Linked DNA regions of Homo sapiens: all the other regions are linked to region 1. Evidence: promoter capture Hi-C in 16 types of primary human blood cells and fetal thymus (Javierre and others, 2016). All regions are on one chromosome and are shown on one strand. The core of a region is centred on a gene start or on the middle of the fragment in contact, and the rest is flanking DNA. Distances in the headings are between cores, read along the strand shown.

Evidence for each region. The method cuts DNA at HindIII sites, captures the fragments that hold promoters and counts their contacts. A CHiCAGO score of 5 or more calls a contact.
Region 2: a fragment that was not itself captured here is called in contact with the fragment with the promoter of DCAF16 in region 1 in 1 of 17 cell types (naive CD8 T cells); the score reaches 6.1 in naive CD8 T cells.
Region 3: a fragment that was not itself captured here is called in contact with the fragment with the promoter of DCAF16 in region 1 in 8 of 17 cell types (non-activated CD4 T cells, fetal thymus, total CD4 T cells and 5 more); the score reaches 11.3 in non-activated CD4 T cells.
Region 4: a contact is called between a fragment that was not itself captured here and the fragment with the promoter of DCAF16 in region 1, in 1 of 17 cell types (M1 macrophages). The highest score is 5.7, in M1 macrophages.

The regions. Positions count from the first base shown.
Region 1 is chr4:17,808,079-17,815,426 of GRCh38, reverse strand. DCAF16 (DDB1 and CUL4 associated factor 16) reads left to right here and starts at 4,670. Exons shown (of 3, transcript NM_017741.4): 1 at 4,670-4,980. NCAPG (non-SMC condensin I complex subunit G) reads right to left here and starts at 4,448. Exons shown (of 21, transcript NM_022346.5): 1 at 4,239-4,448; 2 at 3,003-3,206; 3 at 2,282-2,510; 4 at 429-574; 5 at 69-153. The coding sequence starts at 4,349. RefSeq lists enhancers at 3,977-4,489, 4,763-4,922, 4,490-5,001, 5,043-5,132, 6,752-6,901. The HindIII fragment of the contact is 3,530 bases long and covers 3,412-6,941 here.
Region 2 is chr4:16,203,829-16,211,176 of GRCh38, reverse strand. All of the region lies in intron 2 of TAPT1 (transmembrane anterior posterior transformation 1), which reads left to right. Among named protein-coding and RNA genes, the nearest start is that of TAPT1, 19 kb to the left of the region's middle. RefSeq lists a silencer at 5,322-5,371. The HindIII fragment of the contact is 2,604 bases long and covers 3,171-5,774 here.
Region 3 is chr4:16,219,498-16,226,845 of GRCh38, reverse strand. It overlaps TAPT1 (transmembrane anterior posterior transformation 1), which reads left to right and starts at 375. Exons shown (of 14, transcript NM_153365.3): 1 at 375-587. The coding sequence starts at 389. It overlaps TAPT1-AS1 (TAPT1 antisense RNA 1), which reads right to left and starts at 183. Exons shown (of 3, transcript NR_027697.1): 1 at 1-183. RefSeq lists silencers at 1-32, 93-162, 173-272, 283-332, 443-822. The HindIII fragment of the contact is 1,839 bases long and covers 3,190-5,028 here.
Region 4 is chr4:16,281,484-16,288,831 of GRCh38, reverse strand. It overlaps LOC124900674 (a long non-coding RNA gene), which reads right to left and starts at 1,746. Exons shown (of 5, transcript XR_007058064.1): 1 at 978-1,746. The HindIII fragment of the contact is 3,982 bases long and covers 2,162-6,143 here.

The DNA of each region.
Region 1 (7,348 bases), core at 3,421-5,920:
CTTAAACCTTGTTAAGTCTGACCTCAAAATCTACTAAAGTTTTGTATATATAAAGTTGTTTATCTTACCTGATCTGTCATTAAGACCTTGTTGAAGGAGCATTACTCTCTGAGCAATGGACATAGCTCTCATATGAACCTTTTCAGCTAAAACCTTAAAAATAATTTATAAAGATGGTCATTAACCTCAACACAATTTATAGATTTCATAAGAATATCACCATCTTAGAAAATTACCCAGAATCTCCAAAAGAAATTAATACCTGGTAACATACTTAATACAGTAAGATTCTACCTAAATTACCTGTGTTCTCCATAAAACCTCAACTGAAGAAATTATTACATGCCAAGTATTTTTCAAAGGCACTTTAAGAAAATGGCTCCTTGTCCTTTAAGAATATGCCAACACAAGACATTGAACTTATTTACCTGATAAGCCAGCTTTCTGACAGCCTCTTTCACATCCTTGGTGCGCCCTACAATTTTTGGCAAAGTCTTTGCTGATGGTGCAATACATGATAACACTGCCCGTCTAACTTCTGGATTTGAATCATTTTCAATCAAAGTAGCATATGCTAAAAATAAAGCAATACATTTTAGTACTGATGAAATTATTTATTTAACTACAGTCATAAAATAACACACATTTTGATATTTTAAAATGCCTTTAATGTGATAAAGATAGGCTGGGCATGATGGCTACTGCCTATAACCAGCACTTTGGGAGGCCAAGGTAGGTGGAGAGCTTGAAGCCAAGAGTTCAAGACCAGCCTGAGCAATATAGAAAGACCCCTGTCTCTACAAAATAATTTTAAAATAAAAAATTAGCTAGGCATGGTAGTGGCGCTTCCAGTTACTTAGGAGGCTGAGGTGGAAGGATCACTTAAGCCCAGGAGTTTGAGGCCACACCTCTGCAATCCAGCCCGAGTGAGAACCCATCTGTAATAGAAAGTAATGTCATTTTTTTAGTCTCACATATTTTAGTTGAAGTTTTTTTCCCACCAACTTCCTTCTTTTTCTTTTTTTTGGAGACAAGGTCTCACTATGTTGCCCAGGTTGGAGCCAAAGTGCTGAGATTACAGGCCTGAGTCACTGCTGCGCAGGCCACCAACTTCCCTTCTAAAGACACAAGGGGGAATTAGTCAACGGACTGGCTCTTAGGCCAAAAGTGAAAACAAATAGCCCTAAAAGTCACAGAAAATTCATCATTAAGATTATGTCTGTGCTACTCCTCAATATTTAAGAGAAAGCTTACTATAGCAGACAGTTTATTTTAAACTGATATGGCTTTATAAGGGCCCATTATTTTGGTTTTTAATGAGACCTAAAAGGAAATATTTTTTGGTTTTATTCATTGAAACAAACCCATTTCTTATATTTAAATATATTTATCTGTACTTCTCACATCTTTCCTACCTCAATTATTAAGTACAGGTTGACTATCAAATACCTATGTTTTACACAATATTATTATGGGTATCTTTTAACACCAAAAAAAATACCAACTACTATAGTGATAAATATACCAGTGATTATAAAACTGGTAATAGGGACAAAAAGGACAGAAGAGTGCCTAAAACATACCTAGGCATATATGGAAAAATGAAATACAACTACCTTTATGACCCCATAGGTAAGAAAAAGTTCCTTAAAAAAGAGATTAAAAAATACGAATCATAATGGCAGAGATTTATATTTTTGACATAAGAATTTCTGTTCAAAAAAAAGATACCCCAAAGGGAGTGAAACAATGATACCCCAATGAGCCACCTAAAACAGGAAGAGATCTACAATTCATATAACCCAAGGATTTCTTTTCAAAATATATAAAGAATGCAAATGAATTTTTTAAAATAGTATTTTAAATTAAAAACCCAATGAAAAAATGGGCAAAACACAGTAACAGGTATTATATAGAAATATAATTGGCTGCTAAATATATACATACAGCATGATTTACACAAAATGACAGGAAAACATTAAGATAGACATATGTGATTTATGCAAAAAAATTTTTTTTAATTTAAGCAAGAGACTAATTAACCCCAAACTGAGGATTTAATAGTTACTTCTGAGGGACAGGGATGCAACTGGGATAGGATGCAAGTACTGACTTTTTTTTTTAAGCTGGGTGGTTGCTACTTAGGTTTTTTTTGTTTAATCGGAATCATATATTAATTACCTATACTCTTCAAATGTATAGACCATAATAAAAAATTTCAAATACTGAGAATTTAACAAAATCAACAAATCTGAAAAAAGATTTAGGAAACTACACACACCATTAACCACTGGGCATTCATCATCCTTGGGATCCTGAAGTCGTGAAAGCGCCAGAACTGCCTGTATTCTCACATTTGGAATCTTATCTTTCAATCTAATAAGCATGGCTTTATTAATTTTATCAAACACATCATCATCAATCTGAGCATTTTCTGGCATACTTCCCAAAAGCTTGTTTATGAGCAGGCACACTCTAAATCTCACTGCATTGCTGTTTGCTTCATGAGACTAAAACAGAAACAAATCAAAATTTATTCATAGTCACATACCACTCCCAAATAATCAATATTATCTGAACTCTATACATTCGGAATGCAAGAAGTTACAACAACAATTCATTTCCTGAAGAGAACCTATAATGCTACCTTGGTCCATATGTATAGCAAATATATATATTTTATACAGTCTCAAAATGAACAGTCTGAAAGAAGTCTTTGCTAAGTTACATAGTCCTCTTTGTAGAGGCTTCTAAAATACAGAACTCATTTAAAATAAACAAAGGAGAACTGGTTTAAAGAGGTCATTAAAAATTTAATGCTGGAGTTAAAGTCCACTTTTTAATCATAATGATAATTCTAATATTTCCTATGAAAGGTAGACTCATTCAGGTTTTTTCAATCACTAGATATTTCATTGTCAAAAACATACAAACTCCCACGACTCTTTTAAAGTGGCAAAATTTTCTAAAATCCCTCCCCAAAGCTATCATTTTCATAGTACCTTTAAGAGAAAAGTAAACAAATAATTTAAAAGGCCACCATCTTCCTCTTCCTCATCATCTTCCATATCTGATTGGTGAAATGAGGTAACAAACTTTGCTGCAAATTCTATTACCCTCTCCACAGCTGGTTCACGTTTATAGACCACCATAACATATTTAAGGTAATGAATGAACTCCTCATGAAAAACTGTCTTATCATCCATCTGAAAGACAAAAGAAACCCTTCATAAACTGCACCGATAAAAATCCTTTATTCCCAACATCACCCTAAGACTGATGAAAGCACTAGCCATAATAATGCAGACAAATTAAAATATTTATTTAGTAAACTCTTAATTATCCAAACCAGCCAAAGGGCAATCAATTTGCATGAATTTCTCTCCAGGCTATAATGGGAGTACACAAGCTTGACTTTTGACAGTGAAAAGATTCCTTTGATATATTTTTTTCAATATCTTTGATTCTCAATAAGCCTTTAGTACCAGTACGTTACAAATACGCTTCTTCAACAACCCAAAATCAATACTGGCTTTTATATTTCTCATATTCAGGCCTTCCTATCACCAGCAGTTTCTTTATGAGATAACTTGCACATCCTATCTCATATCCTCAAAGCCCTGTGATGTTTACTCACAATTTTTCTTGGACCTCAAGATAATTCATCTTCCCCAAATTAATTGTTCTATTCTTCTCAAGGTTCCACTCAAAACAAACAAATAGTATGTACATAAATAAGAATGGCCAGGCCCTAAAAATAATTTGGTATTTGGTGATTGGATTCAACGTAACCGTAGGACAAGGGTAGAATCATTTGATGTTCGGCGGGGAGCGATGACCCCAGGGGCAACGACCACTGAACCCCCGCATTCAGGATCCACTCTGCGGTTCAATATTTGATGTCTGATCGCCTCGGTGGTCGTAAATGTTTCTCTCCACGTTCACGATCGGACTAAGGAATAACGGTCCACGCCGCCCAGAAGCTGGGGGTGTCGGCTCAGAAAAGCCAAGGCGGGGCCCGTGTGAACGACGCCCAGGCTTCGGAGGCTTTCTGGCCTGGGCCCAGGCGACCTCGGGTAAGTCCCTGACTTCTCCGAACCTCAGATCCCTATGAAGTGAGTCGCGAAGGTGAACAAGGCTGGAGTCACGGTGCGCCGAGCCCGAGGGCCACGGAGGGCCCCTGAGGGAGGGTGGGCCGGGGCGGGCGAGAGGCGGCGGCCGGGGCCGGGAGCGCTTACCGTGCGGTAGGTGCGGCTCAGCGCCACCACCAGCTTCGCCTGGTTCTGGTGCGGCTGCTGCGCCAGCCGAAAGGCCTCCTTAATCGACAGCAGCCTCCTTTCCGCTCCCATGGCTCTGGAACCCTGCCGGGACGAGTCCTGCCCGCGCTCGGCTACAGCCTGCCAGCCCGCCAACCCAGAGGCAGCGCTCTCCGAGTAGTCTTCTATGACAGCCCCAGGGAGTATTTACCGCTCGAACGTTCAAATAATTCCCGCGAGAGGGGGAAATCCCGCGAGACTGCCGTAAGCGCTTTGGGAGAAGAGAGCGGGAAGCGATGGGTCCACCCACCTCGCACCCCGCGCTTTGGGCGCATGCGTCTAGGTTCAACCTTGTCCAGCCGTTTTCACGGAGGGAAGTGGCGTTTCTAAGGGGGAGGGGCCTTGACTCGGCCGGAAGTAGCGTCGGCGCGGGAGCTGAGCGGAGTGGCCTTGCCACCGGAGGGGAAGGGCTGCTGGCGTTAGGCCTGGCTGGGTCGTGCGGCTGAGCGTGAGGCTAGAAAGAAAAAGCGATCCTCCAAGAGTGAGAACGGGAGATCTGCCGAGGATAACAACCTCCCTTGTGGCCGAAGGGCGGGGGATCCCCACACGAGGGCTCCGCTTCGAGAGACGGCGACAAAGGAAAGTTCGTAGCGCGTTCCGGAGGCCCGGCCACCTCTGAGAAGGGAGACGACGCTGCTGGGTCCGCTGAGCGGGGCGACCCGAGGTTAGTGGAGACGGATGCTGTCTTTTGAAGGCCTTAGTCCCTGCCCTGGTGAAGCCGACTGCGAGGTTCCACAGGGCGTGCAGGCAGTCCGGGGATCGTTGCGAAGGGGGGTGCGGGCTAACTTAGCTGCTGCCGTTTCTAGATGTGCAGCTGTGTAGGCCCTGTTTACAAGTGTGCATAAGGACAGTGTATTAAGGGAGAACTCAAGAGAATGGAAAGGTCTTTCGGGTAGTGGTTAAAATAAAGAAGAGTAGGAACTAGGTTTTTAAATTTTAAATGAAATTATATCAGACAGAACTTCTGTTGGATCTCAGGATGCACCATCCAAAAATAGGACTGTAGGAGACCAAAATATGCCACCCTACAATATACTTCTAGAGTATATTTTGAGCTGGTATTCTGATAAAATGCAGACACAGGAGTCGCTCTGAAAATCTGTCCTGTTGTAAAAGAAATTGACATCTACAGAGGAAATATACATCAGTAAAGGATCTGTATCAGAAAGAGGGCAGCTCTGCGATAATTTTTGTTACCTGGGAGATCTTATCTGCATACCAAGACAACTTTTATTCACCGTATATTTCCTCCCCTCACCTTTCCACAACTTTGTGGCCACCATCCCCCAGAAAGCCGCAAGCCCCCATTTCTTGAGTAGCGTAGGATGCTGTATAATATTCAATCATCTGACCATGGTGGGACTCCTCTGCGTATGTAATTAAGTACGGGTTTTTTTTCTTGTTAATGTCTATGTCAGGTTAATTTGTAACCCAGCCAAAGAACCTAGGAGGATGGAGGGAAGCCGTTTTTCCCTCTCCTACACCTCAGTAACCTACTGCCAGCTGAAGAAATAGAACATTACTAAAGCCACCTGTACATCTTTCTCCTTTTGAATTACCTGCCCTCCGAAGAAGTAATGGATTTTCTGAATTTACTGTTAACTTTTACCATGCAGCTTTCTATATCTTAATGACATATTTTAATATATTAATGACATGAATAAATCCCTGAATGAGGATATTGTACTATTTTGCATGTTTTAACCGTTAAATGAATAATTATATGTGCATCTGGCTTTTTTCAATCAATATTGCTGTGGTTCATATTGATATGTTCATAATAGTAACTTGCACTTAATTAACCTTTATTATGTGCCAGACACCATGCTAAGCACTTTACTTCGTTTACTGCTCACAAACCCTGTAGGATAACTTTGATCTTCTTTTAAGATGAGGAAACTACGGCACAGACAGGTTGCTATAGTACTCCATTGTATTAATATGCCATACCTTATCCATTCTCCTGCTTAATTCCTCAAACTTTGTAGATATTCAGCTGCTAGTTAAGAATGTGGTAACATTTGTGTTGCCCATAATTTTGCTTTGTGACGTTTCTAATATATATTTTTTTATTTTTATTTTGAGACAGAGTCTTGCTCTGTCGCCCAGGCTGGAGTGCAATGGCGCGATCTCGGCTCACTGCAACCTCTGCCTCCCGGGTTGAAGCGATTCTCCCGCCTCAGTCTCCCAAGTAGCTGGGTTACAGGCATGCACCACCACACCTGGCTAATCTTTTGTATTCTTAATAGAGACGGGGTTTCGCCATGTTGGCCAGGCTGGTCTCGAACTCCTGACCTCAGGTGATCCACCCGCCTTTGCCTCCCAAACTGTTGGGATTACAGGCGTGAGCCACCGCGCCCGGCTAGTATTTCTTTACTATATTCTATTTGGCTGTCTCACCAACAGAGACATCACACCATTTTGTCAGTTACAGAAGAATGAGACATCTGGCCGCCAGAGGTCAGCCTAACTATATTTCGGTTAGTTTTTTTTTTTGTTTTGTTTTGTTTTAATGGTTAAAGCCATGGGGGTATTGGTTCAGTATTTTTTGATATTATAATCTGAAAATATTTTTTCAAAGGTGCTAGATTAAATTTAAACAACATAGTATACTGCCTTAAAGCTTACATTTTTCCTGACTTTTGTACTGTGAAACAGAACAAAAACAATTATGGGAAAGTAAGAGCCTTTTTAAAAATTTTCTGAGTAACATAATAACTGAAGTATAGCCAATTAGTAATCTCACAGGTGCAATCTGGTTGAAGTGAAAATAGTAAAAATATTAGAGGACAGCACAATTAAAAGCCAACAGCTTCTCCTGTCTCAGTTAATAAAGACTTACGGTCCACGACAAAGAATGAATACTCTTTTTCAGATTGAACAAGGTAATAGTACTATAATCTAAACTTAGAAGTATTACATTGTTTCTTCTTAAAGTTATAAGCAGTTTCCTTTATATTGCTGTAGTAGCATCATATATGTTGATCCTGCCTTAAAAAAATTATCTCATTTGTCTTTGTCTAACATTACCA
Region 2 (7,348 bases), core at 3,223-5,722, 1.6 Mb after region 1:
TGAAAATTAAAGCGCACTTTGCTTCTACAAAGGTTGCAAACACCATAAAACATGTAATTAATTTTTATATTTTAAGATAAAGGTCAACTTAATATGTCTTATCAAACCTGTTTACTAATGTGAAAAAAAAAACACCCCAATTTTTGTGTTGTATTGTCATTGGATAAATACCTTATACTTGACATTTAGTAAAAATGAATTGCTTATATATTTTACATAGTATTTCCAATTATTAGCACATTATTTTCACTCTTAAACTTCTTATTTTAAGCTAAGGGTATATAATTTTGGAGTGTTTTATTGGCTTTTGAGAGACATTTCTTCTCTTCCACCATAAATGTCCTCCCCTGACCCTACAACCCCTTGGGTTCTATGTACCAGATCTTCTGCTGTTTATGTAGTCCACTTTGGGAACTTTATTTTTCTTTTTTATACAACCAAGGAGATTAAACTATACTTTCTCTGCCTTCTAAATTGAGAGGCAAGATAGCAAAGTGTTTAAGGGGATCATCTCTAAAGCCGAACTGTCTAACTCTGAGTCTTGGCTTCACAGTTGATTGGCTGTGAGTCCTTGAGCAATTCACTTAATCATTCTCTGCCTAAGTTGTCTCATCTATATATTAATTATATGGTAAGCATGTAAAATTTTTCACAACCTTCACATCAGCAACTCAGGGGGAATGCACTACTCTGCTAGAGTGAGAGGAATTTAAAGGTTGCTTGTCCCCGATTACATTCTGGTGGATGTAATATTTTTCTTTGCAGTAGGGATAGCTTTCATCTTTGGGATGTGCACAGCAGGAGGTGATTGGGAGAGGTGTGGTTTTTAGGATTTCCCTGTGTCCCAGTTTTATCTCACATTATACTTTTAATCTCCCTGCTTTGCTTGCCACTAAATTCGACTTTGCTAACCCTGCAAGGGGCATGATTTTCTGGCTCTTGGCCCTCTTGGGTTGCTGACCATAGGCAGAAAAAACCTCTAGGGAAAGCTGTCTTCTTTCCTCTTTCCTTTTACCTAGGCTGTCTGGGGGTAAAGCTGATCTCTTTCATGAAGAACATAACCAATGGCCATGAGAGATGATAACACACCCTGACATTTTCTGCCAAGCCCTATAGAGTCTGGCCTCAATGGGCACATGCCTGAAGCCTACAGTTATAACAGAAACAGGGTGCTTTAACCAGAGGCTTGGTGAAATCAAGGGCAGGGAGCACCAGTTTCCTAAAGAGGAAATTCCTGGTGAGTGAGTTCTCACTGTCCCATACCCCACCTTGACTTGGACACTTACATCCCACCTCTTGTATCCATTTCTGTGTGAATAATAAATAATGTTTGTTATGTAAGGATTAGGTGTCAGATACTGTCCTAGGCATTTTACATGTGTTTGCGTTCAATCCATTCAACAGCCTCACAAGATATATATACTATTAAAGCTCCAATTCCTTTGTCCACCCCACGGTGGCAGTTCTTCATTGACTTCCAGACAGATCTCTCCTTCCACCATTGTTTGGTGGAGGTATGTGCTAGTAGTATATGCTCTCCATTTAGGTCCCCTAGGAACAGTTTACCATGCATCAGGTACAAAATTGTCCCTTGTCTAAGGACTAATTTTGTCATCTTTGTGAATCTAAAGCTACAGTAAATAGTAAAGAAATACACATTATAGGATCTTCTAAAATTTCCTGTTATGTTTAAATTCAAATTTAGAAAGATAAAGATCACTTACACACTTAATTATTAATTTGCTCCATCTATATTTTGAGTACTTTCTATGTTCCAAGAAGGCACTTTTGCAGTGCAAAATACAGAGATAAGACTCACACCTAGCTTAGGAGATATCAGATCCATAAGTTATTATAATACAGGATACAACGTGACAAGTGCTTTTAAATAGTACAAATAAAATATGAAGAATTTAGAGAAGGGGAAGTGTGCCTAGACAACAGACCTGGGACGAGGATCCAGGAAGGAAAAAGAGAGAGATTTTGTCGTATATGCTTTGTAGGATGGGGTGGCTATGCTAGGAAGATCCAGAGGTGGAAAATTGTTAGGTGTGAACAGGAAACCACCGACACATGCTGGAAAGAAAGATAGACTGGCCAACCTAGGCAATGTGGCAAAACGCTGTCTCTACAAAAAATACAAAAATTAGCCAGGAGTGGTAGTGCACGCCTGTAGTCCTAGCTACTCGAGAGACTGAGGCAGAAGGATTGCTTGAGCCCCAGAGGCAGAGGTTGCTCTGAGCTAAGATCATGCAACTGTACTCCAGCCTGGGCAACAGAGTGAGACCCTATCTCAAAAAAAGAGATAGGCTAGATCCAGTTATGTTGAATGGTCAGGCTGGAGAGTTTAGAGTTGAGTCTATGGAAGGAGACTATTAAATATATATTTCTTAGGAATGCTTTTAGCTGTATAGAATGGAAAAGCTGGCTAACAGTCATTTAAACAAGTAGGAAATTATTTTTTTCAACAAATCTAGAAGAAAAGAGGTCTCAGTTGTTGCAGCAGATTAATGAAGCTGTCACGGACCCAAGTCCTTTTCATCTTTCTATTTTGCCATCCTTGGCAAATTGGCTTTGGGTCCTCTTGCTTGTTGTCTTCTAGTAGAAAGATGACGGCTGCAACCTCGGCATTACATCTGCATTATAAACAAAGAAATGGGGTGGGCATTGCCACTTTTTTGACTATGCCTTTTATAAAGATTGAAAGATTTCCCAGACGTGGCCTGGAATACTTCCACTTCTGTCTTATTGTCCAAACTGAGCTACATAGCCATTCCCAGCTGCAAAGGAGGCTAGGACAGTGAATGTTAGGCTTTTCCAACAAACAGAAAAGAACTGAGAATGGTTATTGGGTTAGCCATCCGTCAGAGCTTTCTTTCTGGAAAATTAGTATAGTCATATTCAACATGGACTGGAAATGAGACAAGCAGGGAGAGCTCAAGATCCTTCCATGAATATAGTTAATATATAATTTAATTCTACAATTAAAATTCTAATTTAATTCTACAATTACATAATTTAATTCTACAAATTAAAATCTTCATTTGATTTACTTATTCCCCTCTCATGGTATTTATTTCTTGGGTTAAATATGTCAGATGTATGTTGTGGATTATCATGAAGCCTTTTAGCAATATTCTTTTCCGTGTTTATATATGTTCATGTAAGCTTGCATATCTGGTTAAACTAAAATGAAAATATTCTGTTGACTTTTCTTTACCTTGTAATTCTGTGCTTTTTGGCAATTCATTATTTCATTGTTACCATGCCTTGTACATTATAGCTATTTAATACATTTTTCTAAAAATTAAATTCAACTGCTTAAATAGAATGACTTAGTTTTCTTACCAATGTAGCAAATTTTTATAAGCCTTAAATTTGTCAGATTGAAGGTGTAAGTATTGATATATTGTTATTACTAGGCATAGACTATTATTGTTGAAAGGGGGAAGGGTTACTGTCATACAGGGGAATTATTTGTAATCAAGCATCAACAACCTTAGCTTCTTGAGTCTGTTTGTAATAGCTGAGGCCTGATCAAGGCATCAGATCTCTCTTGGGTTTTACTTTCTTCTATGATTAGAAGGTTGTACCTAGGTCATCTCAAGAGGTCTAATAGTGCATGATTCATTGAATGAGTTTGCCTGTGAGGAATGGTGAGGGTAGATGGAAAGATTTAAATGTCTAGTGGAGTAACTTAATTTTGCCTTTTTGAAGGTCGTGGTGGGGTTAACATTTAGGAAAAAATAATCCAAAAGTTCATTTCAAACGAACGGACTTCAAATGTCATATAAAGCCTTTTTGTTTTATGTCAGTGTGAGGATATGTTAAGAAAACGTAATGACTATTGTTTCCCCTTTATTTCAGTAAAACAGTCCTGGGATTTCATTGTGAAACTAATAGAGAGTATTTACTCAGACCCATATTTATGGCAGTGTTTTCTTGGGCATCCTAGTCAGTTTCTGATTTCATAAAAACATGTTCAGAGAATCATCCCTCTAAATTCTTCTCATAATGCAGCTCTTGCTGGTGACACACCCTTGTGCAGATGTTCCCCCTCCTTGTCCCCCAGCCCCTGCTGTGTGGCTGCTGAGAAGCAGGAAAGCCAGTAGGGATCCACATGTCTCAGAATCTCAGCAGCCTTGGCTGGTGCTTCTCCCCTTCTCTCCGAGGCTTGTCACACCCTGCTTGTGGTGGTAGTGACCACAGCTTCCACGTTCTTTCTGCAACTGTCTTACCATTCTTAATTTTCTCAGGGGAGGTTGGGCATATGAGACTCATCAGATAGTTCTAAGACAAGCCAGCAAAGCCTTTAGGCCTCTAGCACATTTATTAATGTATTTAAAAGATAATTTTTGAACTTGGCACCATGGGGCCATGTTTATCTTTGTGAATCAATCACTTATTTCTCTCATTTCAGCTTTGGAAACAGTCTTAAATTTCTCTTCTCTGTCTTTCCATTGTCCTATGTCAGGCTGCTGTGATCATTCACACTGATGGCTCTTCTCCTTCCGTACTGTCCTCTCTGCTCACTGCAGCCTGCTGTGGTGCTTCGTGCTGACCACTCCCTAGAAAGTCGATCTCATCCTAGATAGAAGGTGTAGGATCAGAGCCTAGAGCCGCAGCTAAGACCTCTGTTCCTTAGGTGACACTCAGTCTTGCCCTGGGACCCTGAGGGCACTCCTGCCTTGCTGCATCATTCCAGCCTCTCAGCAGGAGCACCACAGCCCTGTCTAAGCCCTGTCTGTAGCAAGCAAAATACCAAGTAATAGTTCCTGCCTGGTGGGTTGTTGTGAGGATCAAGTTAATGTGGGTCACGTGCTTAAAATATAACAGTATTCAACATGGATTGGAAGTAAGAGAAGCAAGAAAGTCTCAGGATCATTCTATGTGCATAGTCCTACAAATTAAAATCAATTGACTTGTTTTCCATGGCTGCATATGCTTACATAGCTTGCCTATCGTAAGAGAACTTGGCTCATGATAATCCCTTTGTTGGCCATCTCCTAGAGTATAGACTTTCTGGGGCATGAATTTTTTAATTCGGATGATTAAAATGATTTTATTGTAGGGATGACCTTGAATCTGCAGTAATTGCTTTCAAAGTCAGTCATTTATAGTTTTCTTATTGATATCCTGTTCCCCTTAACATTCTGCTGATTGTTGATCCCTATATGTGAGTTTATTGAGAACATCTTCATTCTCAGCAGAGATTTATCAAAATGTACATGTTTCAAAATAACCTAATCATCTTCAGGTACCTCTTTAAAATAAAAGAGCTATAAGTGAAAACAGTCAAAAGACAAGGATACCTTGGAACCTAAGAATGAAAATTTGAGCTCCTTAGCAATGAACTGAACGTGATTTTTATGCCTCTTGCATAATGATTATATCCTAACCTCACCACTAGGAGGCTACTCACATTGTACCTGTGCATGCTCTTTCCTTGGTTTGAAATTCGGTCCTCTTTACTGCCTGGCAAAATCTAGTGCCTGTCTTCTCTCCTCTGTGGGACATCTCTGCTATCTCTTGCACCTCCTTCCCTGTGGTGTGCATGCCACTCTCACCTGCCCCCAAATACACACGCTTTACAGACCCAGGCTCTTCACCTGTGTTTCCAGAGCACATCATTCATCTGGCACTTAGCATGCGGTTTGTGTCAAGCTCACTGGGTTGTGAATTCCCTGGAGAGGATGTCTTTCCTCCCAGTGCAGTATTAAGCAAGATATGGTCTCTGCTTTTACAGGAGTAGACCCAGAGCTTTAGCACAAGCTTTATAAAAGTGAGACTAAGCCTCTTTACTCCTACTTTCTAACACCCTAGACCAGCGATCCTCGACTAGCAGGTGGTATTTGGTGGTTGTGGTGGAGGAGATGGTATTCAGAATTTCCAGAAGATGGTTAGTGTAATTCAAGGAGATATATTGCAAAATCATTATGCTTCTTTCATTTTAGCCATAACATTTTGTTTATTTTGAAATTTCAAATGGTGCTAAAAGAAGGGCAGGAGATTTTTGTCATAAAGGGACACGTAGATTTTTTAAAAGGTGAAGAAACCCTGCTTCATTCCCCACAGAAAGAGGCTGGCGTTTTTACTTGTTTATTTCTCTTGAGGCAGGTATTTTTCAGATGCTAAGTGCAGTACTATTAGGTTCAAAATAAATATGATAAGAGCAGGTTGTAGAAATTTTCACAAGTGAATATTTTGTTTACTTACAATGTCACAGGATAATTTTCATTTTGTAATTTCCTTAGCATTAAAGTTCAGATGTTAAAAACTTATGTTAAACTTTATTTTAAAATGTGTATAATGGTAAATCCAGTGGTGAGTGAGGCCAGAAGGATGAGTGAAAGTGTCATTAGTAGAAATAGTGCTTCAGTTTTCTGCAGACTGAGTGAAGTCCTGGCTCTGCCTCCACCACTCAAGAACCCAGGCCAACTCCTTGTCTCACTGCAGAGTGTGGGTGGTACTAGACTGCGGCCATGCACAGGCAGGGCCCAAGCCCAGCACCTGGCCAGTGCCCGGTTGCGTTGCCCAGAACCTGTAGAAGGCTTCTGAAGTCCTTCCAGAAAAGATCTCTCAGAGACAGAGAGCCTGGTGAACATTTCTGTCCTTTTATTGTTTTCACTTATAACTCTTTTTATTTTAAAGAAGTACCTGAAGATATTAATTAAGCAAAAGATTATTTTGAAACATGTACATTTTGATAAATCGCTGCTGAGAATGAATTTTAGAAAATATTTTAAAATTATATGTCTGCAGTTTGTAACTCAGTACTTTTAATTCAGTTTTGCACAAAGAACTTCCCAGTGTGTTCCCACTCGTATACTCTTCTGCAAAGCTTTCTGTAGTCAGTTTGAGCTGAACTGTCTTCAGTGCTTTGGAAGCTGCCTAGGAAGGAACTAAATTTCAGCCTGGCTGCCTATCCGGGACCTGATTTTCAGACTGAGTTGCAACTTTTTAGTGGATCACAAACGCTCCTGGGAACATCAGGTTTCTGGCAGTTTCTGCCCTCAGTACTGAACCAGCAGTCCACTCGCAAGGACGGAAAGGCTTCTCAGTGATAGGAGAGTAATAGAAAAGGACCATGAACTCTATCTATATGGACCTTGCTCAGCCTCCTGCTGTACTGCTTTGTGTGTAAGACAAGAAAACATGCAACACTGGGACTCTACGCTAATCTACCACACGTGACTCTATGCTAATCTAGCATCGTATTTTCACTGCTGTTCATAATGAGTCTAAATTGTTAAAAACAAAAAAAGGGCCTATATATTCAGATTAAGAAATCTGGCAAATATTATGTGTAGCATATTTTTGAGATATTTTTATCAAAAATTAATAAAGT
Region 3 (7,348 bases), core at 2,860-5,359, 1.6 Mb after region 1:
CCCGCCGCCCGCCGCCGCCATCCCCGGCCCGCTCCTGCCGGGTCCCCGACTCGAGCCCCGGAGGCGCCCGCTCTGCGGGACCGCGCAGCCCGGCTGCATGGAGCCCGGCGCGGTGCCCCGGCCGGCCGAGCCAGCCACGGCGCGAGAAACCGTCGCCCGCCACGGCGAGGGCAGGAAGAAGATGGCGGCTACCGTGGCGGCGGCGGCGGCGGCAGCGGCCTCACACGCGTCGCTGACGCCAATGGCTCGCGCCGGTCGGCGGGCCGCGGATGGCGGCGGCGGCGGCGGCGGCTCGGGCTCCGGCGAGGGGCGGGGCGAGGCGGGGAGGGGGCCGGCCGGAGGCAGAGGCTGGAGGGAGGCGGCGGGGACAGTTTGTTGTGCTCGGAACATGGCGGGCGTCGGCGACGCGGCCGCTCCGGGAGAAGGCGGCGGTGGCGGCGTGGACGGCCCGCAGCGGGACGGCCGCGGCGAGGCGGAGCAGCCGGGCGGCAGCGGCGGACAGGGGCCCCCGCCGGCGCCTCAGCTCACAGAGACGCTGGGCTTCTACGAGAGCGACCGGCGGCGGGAGAGGCGCCGGGGCCGCACAGGTGAGGCGGGCGGCGCTAGGCCGTGGCGGGCTCCGAGGGGCGGACTGGGGACCGAGGGCGGCGGGGGCGCCTTGGAACCCCGGCCCCCGAGCCGCGCGGCTGCCGTTGCCTCCCGGGGCTCCCCAGGCTGTGGGCGCGCGGAGCCGCCGAGGCTGCCGAGGCTCCGCGGCCGTTGACAGTTCCTCGGGCGGGTTGCGCGCGCAGCCCCGAGGCCCCCGCGGCCGCGCCAGGCCAGGTGTGCCCTAGAAGGGGTCTGCGGCCGGGAAAGTTCTGTCCGGGTCCTTGCATCGCCCTCGGAAGGTCTTAGGTTAGCGGGCATCTCCCACGTCTCGGAGCCCAAACGTGAGAAGCACACGGCTGATTTCTTAATTATATTCATGCCAAGGTGACTTTTTTTGTTCTGTATTTTAAGCAAACTTGAGCCATAGAAACCTGTTAACTTGCCCTGCAAGTAGATTTTTCACAGACAGCTGACGGTGTGGTAGTGACCATGAAGTTCAGTAGTTTTGCCCAGTACAGAAATATTTAACACTCCATAAAATGTTGCATCTGAACTTTTCCTGAACTGAAACTTATGCCAAAAAAATTACTAGATGAGAAAATGTGTACTTATGAATCCTACATTCAATGACCAGTTTTAAACGTATTGTTACAATGTTACAGTTTCTATAAGCTGTAGGTTTTTATTCTCATTTTAAAAGAATTTTTAAAACTTGCATTTGTATTCATATTGCAGTTACAGATTAGTTTTAAATGAAAAAAGGTTTTGAGATGGATGTCTTCTTGAATATAGAGTGAACCCAACGTTTTAATTCTCAAGCTGTAAACAGCAACTGAACCATAACTCCATTAAATTTCTTCCAACTAAAAAATTACTTCTGTTGTCCAAAAGGGGCTGTGTTAGCCGTTATTTCCTGAAGTTCATGCAAATAACTAAGTTGTGAGGCTGATTACATCATTGATTGTACTTGAGTACTGAAATTTTAAAACTACTTAAGGGGCATAAAGTTGATCAGATGCGATTCTAATTGATTTGCTGATTCCCAGAACTGGACGTAGGTTCTATTTGAAGCAGTCTATATTTTTGGAAAATTACAGACGGTCTTGTTTGGTCTTTTTCAATTAACCACTTAAAAATTCTCAACCATACTTTATTTGGTTTAGTTCTCAGTTAAACATTTGCTTTCAAGAGTATTTACTTTCTTCATTGGCAGGATCTCAGTAAGACAAAATAGCAAATCTCTCAACTGTCTGTTTACTTACTTAGACTTGAATATTAAAAGCACTCTGTTGTAAATAGAGATAGATGTAGCCAGGCTTCACTATACTTTCTTTAAAACATTTCTCAGTTGCAGGAAAGCCACCATTTTAAAAGCCTTTTTTTGTTGTTTGCGTGGAGAGGAAATGAAGTTGTTTGAAGCCTATTGATGAGCACAGATCTTGAGCTTGCAGTATCACTTAACACTTCTTCCCTGGCTTTTTCTGGGACTGGATACCTGGACTTCCATGGACTTCATTATACCACGTATCCATTCTTCACCAACATGGTTCACCATGTTTAAGGCTGGATTTTTTTTAACCCATAGTTGCAGGAAGTCATTATCAGGGAGATGCCTCCAGGTTTAGCTGTTGGGGTAGTCCTTGTTCTTTCCCCAGTTCCATTGATTTTGTGTGAGGAGATGTCAGTGGCCACTCCTGCTTTACCAAGTCACACTAGCCTTGGCGATCAGGATTTAGGTGAGAATTCCAAATTCCAGGAGTATTTCAGCTGGAGCCACTGGCCAGTGTTCTCTCTGAGCCTCCACATAAGCCCCTCCTTCTTTTCCCCTGGTGTCCCTGCTCTGCTAGTCACATAGCTCCTGCCACTGCTAGCACCCAGTCTGTAGCTCCGATAACCATATTTGTTAGAGGTTTCCCCACTAGAAACAATTATTTTAGTCCTTCTTCAATGCCCAGGCTGCTAAGTCTAGCGCTGCCCTCTTCCCCTGCTCTGTAATCCTTCCTTCCCCTCCTTTTAAGAATTTTTAAAAACGATTCCCTAGGAGCTGGCCTGGGTCAGAGGGCCTTTGAGTGGCAGCACCTGGAGTCATTTGGATAGCATTTCTCCCTGAATCAAACTAGTCCTCCACGGCTAGATGCTCGGACTTAAGGTATTACTTGTTGATTTTTTTATATTCTTGTGTGCCTCTGAGAGTCTAGCACCACTGCCCTTGAGATCTAGATCCCCCTGCAAGTTAAGGCAACCTTTGGCTTTTCTTTTTGAAAGTCATAATCTTAGTGTCTTGGTGGCTGAACCATCAGTCAGTTCCAAAGTTCCCTTTATCATTTCTCACAAGGAATTTAGGGCTCCTACAGGTAAGACATTTGTTGATCAGTCCCAACAGCCTAGAATTCCCTAAATGAATGTACATATTAGGTACTTATCCAAACTCTTTCCATCTGAATAAAATAAAACGTGGTGTCTGAGGTTCATTTTTTGTTTTATATCTCTCCTTGTTGATTTATATGTTTAGAAACTAGATATGTATATTTGTCTGTATGAATAGCTGTATATGCTCTATATTGTATTATACTAAACATGTGTCTCCATTAAGTCTAAGCTTTCTTTTCCTCATCACTTCGTTCTCAGAACTCCCGTTCTGACTTATATTTAGCCTGGCAATAGGCTGACGCATGTCTCAGATGCGAGTACTTACACCTTTTAACATAGTTAGAATTGGGAATCCCACTCATCATTCCTGTTTTTATTTGCTCTCTCAGAATGGTCATTGTGTATTTCCTTGTTGCATATGTGGTTACTGGCCTTGAACTCTGGATGTAGTGGTTATCAAGAACTGCAGATTGATCTCTTCTGTATTTTCTTCCTGTCCTTGAAAATACTACCAACTTCTGTTGTTCCTTTTGACATAAAACCAAATAATCAATGTTATGTTTTTGTGCTTGTTCCCCACTTGATTCATCTGCAGAAGTCCTAGGTAGGAGAGTTTCTGTATAGCCATATTTTTATTTAGGAATCTAAGTACAGCAAATCAACTTTGGACTAAGCATTAGGAAATCTGTGTTTTTGGCTTGGTTGGGTTGTTGAATTGCTTTGTAAACTCTGTGCTTGCTTAGACTGCTTGCCTAATCAGTTTGGTTCTGTTTCATAATGCCACTACTAGATAGTTCAGTATCTGAAGCATCTAGGTTGCTTCTAGTCACCATGGAGACTTAACAGAAGGCTTGGTGTAAATAAGGGTAGCACCTGTGAGGGTAGCACAGGTGAAACAGTACCTGTGTAATGCAGGTGTTGGAGATGCATGGGGATAGGTATTGCTTGTAAAACAAGAAAGCCTGAAGTCGGGTATAGGTGAACATATTGTTTCTACTGGTAACAGTGCCATGGACCCATTTCTTTCTTCTTTAACAGTGACTCTGGACTTCTAAAACTTCAACTTATTATCCATCTCTTTTGCCTCTCTCCTCTCCCTTTAACCATGGTTAGACCTCTTCTTGCTTCACCTCTGTTAGAGATTGAGCAGAGGCAGGAAGAATGAAACCCAGAAAAGTCAACTGAATTTTTAGCAATACCCTTAAAAGATTTCGAGTGGGACGAAGGTTTTAACTATTCATATTACCTATGTCTTATTCTTTGTGTAACTGAAAATTTGTCAGTTTCTTCTTACAAATACATTTTTATTAAAATATGTTTTCATTTAACCAGTCTTCACCTATATCACATAGTTATCCCAGTGGCCCCAAACTTAACCAAATGGATGATTAAAGGGTGACTGATTCTAAAATTATGATCTAGAGCCAATTAATTTGTTCACAAAGAAAAATAAAAATAATAAAACCGGGAAATTACTTGGAGTAACCACAAACCAGATACAAAGTAAAATTAGCTACTTCTGACAAACTATTGCTTTGCTTTTAAAATTCTCACTTGCTTTACTTAATTAGTATATATAGACCAAACGAACAATGAAAAGTTACTTATTTTGGTTTTTGATCAGTTCAGTGTCTTGGCTTTTGACAGTTTTTAACTTTAACTTAGTTTACGCTCTGAAATTCAATCCTAGCAGCTCATTTGTGCTCCAATTTGGGGACTACTTGCATAAAAGAAGTCTCTGGAAAGCCTATATAGCATTGACTGTCAAATTAATGATATTCTATTCTCATTTGTAATCCTTTGCTTTATAACCTTATGACCTTGGAAAAAGTCACTCCTTTGTTTATACCTGTTTTCCATCTATACATGTGTAAATATTCTACTCTTTACTCCTCTAAATGAGACTATAAACATTTTTTCAAACATCTTAAAAACTTGAATATACTGTGTGAAATGGTTCTTTACTTAATGTTTGACTTAGGAAGGCAGAATTGCTGTTGTATGATTGAGTCCCAGAAAAGCTGATTACTAATTGGCCTGGTACAAGAGTGTGTCTCTGTTCAATAAGCTTATTTAATATTTTAGTGTAACCTTAATAAAGTTTACTAAAGTTTTATGTTATTTAAGACTATGGAGATATGCATGTTTCATATTTTCCTAACAGTTAACCAGTATTACTTTCCAAATTTTTAAATGCTCAATGCTATTTTAAGAAAGATATATTTAGACATATTACTGAACATATAAATATATTTATGATTACTCATTACTTTTAATTAATACTTTTTAATCTTTGGTTCTTATTTCTAAAATAAGCTTTCTTAGAAGATAATTAAACATTGTGTTTTTTCTTTTAGGGGTGAAGAAAAAGCAATTTATACTATGCTTTTTCTGAATTTAAGTTCTGGATCACAGAGCAATTCTGTGGTAGGAGATGATATCATGTAAAAATATGCTGGAGGGGCTGGGCGCGGTGGCTCACTCCTGTAATCCCAGCACTTTGGGAGGCTGAGGCGGGTGGATTGCCTGAGCTCAGTAGTTCGAGACCAGTATGGGCAACACGGTGAAACCCTGTCTCTACTAAAATACAAAAAATTAGCTGGGCGTGGAGGTGTGCGCCTGTAATCCCAGCTACTTGGAGGCTGAGCCAGGGGAATTGCTGGAACCCAGGAGGTGGAGGTGGAGGTTGCAGTGAGACGAGATCGTGCCACTGCACTCACGCCTGGGCAACAGGTGACAGAGCAAGACTGTGTCTCCAAAAAAAAAGTATATATATATGTACGTATGTGCTGGAGGAATTGATTTGGATTTATGATTGGTATTATTTTCCTCATATTACATATTCACAGTTGACGGCTGGGCACGGTAGCTCACACCTATAATCGTAGCACTTGGAGAGGCCAAGGCGGGTGGATTGCTTGAGCCTAGGAGTTCAAGACCAGCCTAGGCAACATAGTGAAACCCTGTCTCTATAAAAAATACAGTGAGCCAAGATTGTGCCACTGGGCTGCAGCCTGGGCAACAGAGTGAGACCCTGTCTCAAAAAAAAAAGAAAATTCACAGTTGTCAAAACATAGTTCTTCTAATGTTAAGCACTTGTTTATGCTATAATAGTAAAATGTTTCTTTTTTTTTTTTTTTGAGATAGAGTCTCGCTCTGTCACCAGGCTGGAGTACAGTGGTGCGATCTTGGCTCACTGCAACCTCCGCCTCCTGGGTTCAAGCAATTCTCCTACTTCAGCCTCCCAAGTAGCTGGGACTGCAGGCGTGCACCACCATGCCCAGCAAATTTTGGTATTTTTAGTAGAGACGGGGTTTCACCATGTTGGCCAGGATGGTCTCCATCTCTTGACATTGGGATCCACCCGCCTTGGCCTCCCAAAGTGTCTATTTTTAAAAAACTTTTACTGAATGATATTTCTTCCTGGTAAGATTGGGATAAATGAACTAAGATTAATTGACATCTTAAAAACTGAAATCAGTGTTCAGAAAGTAAATATTTGGATTATTGGAAAAATACTTATTTTTAAAACGTAGAGGTAGATGTTTGGCATAACAAATGAGAGTGACTGTTTTGCTTAGAAGGAATGAAATACTGCAAAAGTCTGACAGAAGTTAAGATGTACTTAGCTGTCAGAGTTCTTGGTGATACCCATAGGTAAAGAACAGTGGCTTTGCTAAATAATTAACCAGTCAACTGTAGCCAAAATTATAGGACAGATAAGTTCAGATAGGTCTATAGAATTCTAGAGAGCAATGTTTAACAAAATAAAAACAAGCGAAACACTGAAACGCAGGTATACCTCGGCACTGGAGATTGAGTGGCGCTCTGGGAAATGCAGCCTTCTCCAGGAAAAGGTGGGAATGGTCCTGGCAGAGCAGAAGCAGCGAGGCTAACTCGATGGCTCTGGCAGTGAGGCACTGTACCCTCCTACCTCCTTCACCATGAATCACAGCCAAATTATAATTGTCAGAGAGATGGTTGATCATTTTGATGTAGGGGAGAGAGCACGCTGGACTAGGTACTATTCCCAATTTGTCACTTAGCTTTTCAATGACTTTGGACAAGTCTCTCAACTTCTGTGAACCTCAGTTTTTTCATAATATGAAAATGGACAAAATATGGACACCATTAATTGCTCTGTTTAACTCTCATGATTGTTGCAAGAATTGTATGAAGTAATGTGTGCAAGACCTTTGTAAACTGCCTTATACTATAAAGTAGAAGGATCCTAATCCCTAAAATAAAGCCACTTACGCAGGAGTAGGTGAGAAGGAGGTAAGACAAAGCTTTCAAGATATTTACCTTATGAAACTTTGTTGTTGTGGTTAGTATTTCTTTAGTGTATCATTTAAAACCATTCCCCAGCCTATTAGCATCGCGCTAATTG
Region 4 (7,348 bases), core at 2,903-5,402, 1.5 Mb after region 1:
GGCACACAGCTGGGGATCAAAACATGTTTCTTGAATAATAGGACCCTCAGAAAAGGAAAAGAAGCTGAGGTCACTCTCTCCAAAAAATGTATTCCCATGATTTTGAAATCAAGGAGTTTGTCCTTTATTTCTGTAGGAGTGATTAGGATGTCCCTAAATGTTAGAAACTCAGTTAACAGCAGAGAAACAAGATGAATCAGCAGTTTGCTCTAATAGATCCAATCTTTGAAACCTTTCAATCAGCATTGGGATGGCAACCCAAGTAATTTTTTTAAGTATTATTTTATTTAGGCCTGTGTGGCTGGCTTTTCAGTCTGGGCTGACCATTAGCAAGAGCAATCTGCAGCTGGTTTCGGTCTCCTGGCACTAGTGGTTTTCACAGCAACAGCAAGTTGTCTGTGGTGCAGTAGAAAGAGCACTGAAGTTGGAGGTAGAGGGTCTGACCCAAAGGATACCCTTGTTCCTCCAAACCACATAGCCTGGAGAATAAATATGGACTTCTGCTGCTCATTGAGGTGCGCATGACTATTGATATAAATTATTTTATGTCCTCCAGCATGATATTTTGTGCAAAAAAACACTATTTTTGTAAGTTTATATTTTTAATTAAAACCTGTTTAGTTTACAACTTAAAAAATATTATCTTCCCGGTTTCTGCCATATTGCTTGCCAGCCCACTCCCCAGAGTGTTGATCCAGTTAACAACGGGCTAGATCACATTTCCCACAGCTCCCACAGGCTGAGAGGTGAAGCTTATTGTTTCTCCCTCTCCAACCCTGCCATCCTTGTTGAACTAAATATCCTCCAACAATATGATTTTCATTAATCTGATAGATGTACTGTGGGGTCATGTTGCCATTTAACTTGGGAATTTCTATGGTTATGAGAGATGTTGAACTTTTCTCCTAAGCTATTTAAATTTCCCATTCTATGACTCCCCTACTTATGTCCTTTGATGACAGAGTTGGCTTTCTTACCTTTTTCTTGTTGGTTTGCAGGAGTACTTTGTATATTCTAGGTATTAATCCCATTCAAAAATTCTCCTATTTTTTTCATTAGATTGTAGCTGTATGTTTCACATTGAAGTCTCTAATTATCTAAAAGTTCCTCCCTTGACCAGCCTGGAAAACAGAGTGAGACATCATCTCTACTAAAAAATACAAAAATTAGCCAGACATGGTGGCGTATGCCTTGGTCCCAGCTACTCAGGAAGCTGAGGTGAGAGGGTCGCTTGAACCTGAAGGTGGAGACTACAGTGAGCCGTGATCGTGCCACTGCACTCCAGTCTGGGTGACAGAATGAAACCCTGTCTGAAAAATAAAAGAAATAAATGAAAGATCCTCTCCTTGCTTATGGAATAAGATGAAGATCTCACTTTATTTTTCTCCTTAATATGAGTCTATTTCCCAATATCAACTTCTTAACAATCTGTCCTTGAGCCACCGACTTGTCTTGCCACCTCTATCATATATCAATTCCTAGATATATATGGATCTGCTTCTGAATTTCCTGTTCCATTTCATTGTGATAGTTGAATGTTCCTGTGATAGTACTGTTTTTGTTTCCATGGTTTTGTAGTATATCTTCATATCTGCTAAGAAATTCTCTTTCATTTTCTCTTCTTTTTAAAAATTAACTTAGCTATTCATGGACTTTTAGTATTAACCACAAATTTGAGATAAGTCTTAAGTTTATTTTTAAAATGCTGATGTTTATAAACTGCATTAATTTCTAAATTATTGGTTTTTGTTTTTGTTTTGTTTTGTTTTTGAGACGGAGTCTCGCACCGTCGCCCAGGCTGCAGTGCACTGGCGCGATTTCGGCTCACTGCAGCCTCCACCTCCCAGGTTCAAGCGATTCTCCTGCCTCAGCCTCCTGAGTAGCTGAAATTACAGGTGCCTGCCACCACGCCTGGCTAATTTTTTTGCATTTTTATTAGAGACGGGGTTTCACTATGTTGGCCAGGCTGGTCTTGAATTCCTGACCTCGTGATCCACCCACCTCGGACTCCCAAAGTGCTGGGATTACAGGCATGAGCCACCGTGCCCAGCCAAATTAATTTTTAAAGAACTGACTCTATTACAATTTTAGGTCATTCCACCCATTAACATAATGGCATTTTCATATATTCAAGTCTTTGTCTATTTCCTTTAATAAAGCTTTAAATTATGATCTGTAAAGCTCTTATATTTTGTTAAGTAAATTCTTAAATATGCTAGAGATTTATTGCTGTTGTAAATGTTATGTTATTTTCCATTATATGTTCTAGTTTGATGTTGCTGGTATAGAGAAACACTATTATCATTTGATACAGTCTCTGCAAATATTACTGATATGTCTTATTAATTCTAGTTCATGACGGTTTGAGTTTTGTGTAGATTATCATATCATCTTCAATTATGTTACTCTTCTCATCCTTTCCAGTCTTTAAATTTTATTTCTCTTGGCTGACAGTAGCACCCAAGACCTCCAAAGCCAAAACCACATTCACAGTAGCAGTAATAAAAGGTTGCATTCTATTTTCCTGATCTAATGAGAATGATCAAAGATTTTACCATTAAAGATCATCCTACAGTAAGGTTTAGGTATGGATATTTTATCAAGTTTAAGAAATTCCCTGCTAGTCTGAATTTGCTAAGAGGTTTTAACATAAATATATTTTGAATTTTATCAGATATTTTAATCTACTAATCATACAATTATTCTTATTTAGACCATTTATTTGGATACCTAGTTAATTTTCATTAATATTTCTCATGTGCTAAAAGAAAATGTCATCAGTTAGGATTTTTTTGCTTATATATCTGTTATCAAGTTGTCTTCTGCATGAAAGTCATTCATTCTACTTTCAAAGTGTTTACCCTTAACTATTAAGACCTATACTTGTGTTTATTTTTCTATATGGGTCTCTAAAACTTAGCATTAACTCTACGTTTCTCCAAACAGTACAAAGACCCTAATTATCTTCATTCCTTCTCCTTTTTTTTTTTTTTTTTGGTTTGATAAGAGTCCACTGTTTCCATTATAGACTTCTCACATCCTAATTTTCAAGTTGGTTATTCTTTGCAAGTGCTTGTTCTGGCCTTTATTACAAATTCCCTTGACTACTCCTTTGAGATATTTACTATATCTATTTAGATATTTTTAATATGCTCCATTCATTCTACTGCATCTAGTAAATATGAATGGCTTCACCATATCATCTCTACCAGGAGAGGCAAAAGTTCAGCTCCTGGTTTCCCTCCTGTAAGTCTGAGGAGAATGGATCCTGCCTCAGGACATTGGGCCTCTAGGATTACTTATTTATCTTGGTATTGTCCACTTGCCACTTCTACCAGCAACATTGACCTTTGCTAGCACTGCTTTAACAAGGTACCACCAACAGAATGGTTTAAACAGTATATTGTCCCATAGTTCTGGAGGCAAGAAGTCCGAGATCAAGGTGTCAGAAGACTTGTTTCATTCTGAGGGATGTGAGGAAGAACTGGTTCCAGTTCTCCCCTAGCTTCTGGTGGTTTGCTGGTGTATTAGTTCATTTTCACACTGCTGATAAAGACATACCCACGACTAGGCAATTTACAAAAGAAAGAACTTACAGTGACTGGGGAGGCCTCACAATCATGGCAGAAGGTGAAAAGCATGTCTCACATGGCAGCAGATAAGAGAAGAAGAGCTTGTGCAGGAAAACTCCTATTTTATAAACCATCAAATCTCATGAGACTTATTCACTACCAAAAGACATATTCACTACCACAAGACAGCATAGGAAAGACCTGCTCCCATGATTAAATTACGTCCCACAGGGTCCCTCCCATAAGACATGGGAATTTAAGATGAGATTTGTGTGGGGACACAGAGCCAAACCATATCATTCTTCCCCTGGCCTTTTCATGTCCTCACATTTCAAAACCAATCATGCCTCCCCAACAGTCCTCCAAAGTCTTAACTCATTTCAGCATTAACTCAAAAGTCCGTAGTCCAAAATCTCATCCAAGACAAGGCAAGTCCCTTCCTCCTATGAGCCTGTAAAACCAAAATCAAGTTAGTTACTTCCTAGATACAATGGGGGTACAGGCATTGGGTAAATACAGCTGTTCCAAACGGGAGAAATTGGCCAAAACAAAGGGGATACAGACCCCATGCAAGTCAGAAATTCAGCAGAGCAGTCAAATCTTAAAGCTCCACATGGTCTCCTTTGACTCCATGTCTGATATCCAGGTCATGCTGATGTAAAAGATGGGTTCCCATGGTCTCAGGCAGTTCCACCCCTGTGGCTTTGCAGGGTACAGCCTCCCTCTTCACTGCTTTCACGGGCTGGCATTGAGTGTCTGTGGCTTTTCCAGGTGCACAGTGCAAGCTGTTGGTGTATCCAGGTGTTTTCATACATCCTCTGAAATCTAGGCAGAGGTTCCCAAACCTCAATTCTCCACTTCTGTGTACCCACACCACATGGAATCTGACAAATCTTGGGACTTGCACCCTCTGAAGCCATGGCCTGAGCTGTACCTTGCCCCCTTTTAGTCATGGCTAGAGTGGGTGGGATGCAAGACACTAAGTTCTTAGGCTGCAAACAGCACGAAGACCCTGGGCCTAGCCCACGAAACCATTTTTTCCTCCTAGGCCTCCGGGCCTGTGATGGGAGGGGCTGCCATGAAGACCTCTGACATGTCCTGGAGACATTTTCCCTAATGTCTTTGGGATTAACATTTGGCTTCTTGTTACTTATGCAAAATTTTGTAGCAGGCTTGAATTTCTCTTGAAATGGGATTTTCTTCTCTATCACGTTGTCAGGCTGCAAATTTTCCAAACTTTTATGCTCTGCTTCCCTTATAATACTGAATACCTTTAACAGCACCCAAGACTCCTTTTGAATGCTTTGCTGCTTAGAAATTTCTTCTGCAAGATACCCTAAATCATCTCTCTCAAGTTTAAAGTACCACAAATCTCTAGGGCAGGGGCAAAATGCCAATAGTTTCTTTGCTAAAAGATAACAAGAGTTTTGCTCTTTGTAACAAAGTTGTTTGCTCCAGTTTCCAACAATATCTCCATCTGAGATCACCTCAGCTTGGACCTTATAGTTCATATCAATCATCTCCATCTGAGATCACCTCAGCTTGATCCTTATAGTTCATATCACTATCAGCATTTTGATCAAAGCCATTCAACACATCTCTAGGAAGTTCCAAACTTTCCCACATTTTCCTGTCTTCTTCTGAGCCCTCCAAACTGTTCCAACTTCTGCCTGTTATGCAGTTCCAAAGTCGCTTCCACATTTTTGGGAATCTTTTCAGCAGCACCCCACTCTACTCATACCATTTTAGCGTATTAGTCCGTTTTCACACTGTGGATAAAGACACACCCAAGACTGGGCAATTTACAAAAGAAAGAGGTTTATTGGACTTACAGTTCCAAGTGGCTGTGGAGGCCTCACAATCATGGTGGAAGGTGAAAGGCATGTCTCACATGTTGGCAGAAAAGAGAAGAGAGCTTGTGTAGGGAAACTCCCCTTTTCAAAAATCATCAGGTCTCTTGAGAGTTATTCACTATCATGAGAACAGCACAGGAGGGACCTGCCCCCATGATTCAATTACCTCCCACAAGTTCCCTCCAATAACACATGGGAATTTAAGATGAGATTTGGGTGGGGACACAGCCAAACCATATCACCTGGCAATCTTTGACATTTCTAGACTTCTAGCCATATCGCCCTAGTCTCTGCCTTCATATTTACATGGCATTCTCCCTGTGTGTATGTCTGTGTCCAAATTTCTCCTTTTTATAAAGACAACAGCATATTGGATTAAAGGCCCACCCTATTCCAGTATAATTTCATCTTAACTAATTATATCTATGACGACCCTATTTCCAAATAAGGTCACATTCTCAGGTACTGGGGCTTAAGACTTCAACATATAAATTTTGATGCCTTTATAAAAAATATATAGTTTGAAAGACACAATTCAATCCATAACAGCCTTCAAAGTACCTCCCTGGACCTCTGCCCTGGGTGCTGCAATTTTATAATCTAAATAACTAATCCTTGCTCTGTAGAGAGGAATGGAGAGGTTTGTCCTCAGCTTTTATTTTCTTCCCACCCCAGTTGCATGTATCATTTCTCTGTGGTCTATAGCGAGGGCTAAGCTTATGATACTGTTTTTCTGATTTATATTGGCAGAAAACATTAGAGAGAGAAACAAACACAACGACAGAGCTTCCACCGTCTGCAGTTCCTGCCTTCTTCTATTCTAAGCTGCCATTTTTCCTCTATATTGTGACCCAACCGTTGTTTTGTCTCTGGGAGTTTTTTACAGTTTTTATTCACAGTCTCAGATCCACCACCTTCTCTCTTGCTTCTGTGGCATTTCAAAAAATTCTTTCACAGGCAGGAGACTTAGTCCATGTGAATTTGATATCTAGTTGGAATCATCCTTTGCCTGAAGTTGTTTTATAGCACACCAGTACACAGGAAAACCCTTAGTTTATCAGGTATTTCTCATTTAGGGAAGAAAAAAATGAGTGTTTTTATAATTCCTACAATGGAGGCAAATGGATAGGCAATTAAAGCTAAAAGCAAAGTTTTAAAATATATTTTAAAGTTAAAGATTTTTGCTCAAGAAAGAGTAAGCAGCTGTAGAAAAGTTAGTACATTGATAAATGATTGTTTTCCAGACATGGATTATTGTTGAAAACAAGAGGATGCTTGTTAAAGTGCTGTAGATATATTAATTTTTCTTTTCAGCATTGTTTGCTTAATACTTTGTTATGGTTCTTCCTGTCAACTTAAGACTAATGAGATCTATAAGTTTGGAAAGGACACTTTATTTCTTATAGAGGATTACAGCTTGTAAAGTGACCATTCTGACAGGCTCAGAGTGTAGCCTCCAGTCCAAGCCTAGAATCAGGCACTTGGAGAGAGGGAAGCGTGAGACAGGAATTTAAGCTGAACAGGTTGTCCAAGTATACTTATTCAACAGATTACAGGAGGAGCTATGAATATTCATGAAGGTGGTCCTAACTCAAGTGTACTGAATAAACATACAACCTATGTTCACTATGGGATAGAGACTTAACCTTTAAGTGTATTATATAGGTCTTTACAGGACACAAAAGCATTCCAGTGTGCAGTCTCTGTAAACTGACCAAAACCAGTTCATGATCAGTGGCCTCTTATCAGGAGAAAGTGATTGAAATCAGTCTCTTGTCCAGTGAAAGCTATACCTGTGGCTTTTGGAACAGGAGAACCAGTCAGTATCTTGTGGTAGATGAGCAGCAAATTATTTTAATATTGCTTATCTTGAAGCCAGTGCTTGTTTCACTGCTAGAGAAAAATAAAAACCTGTGGCAGTTA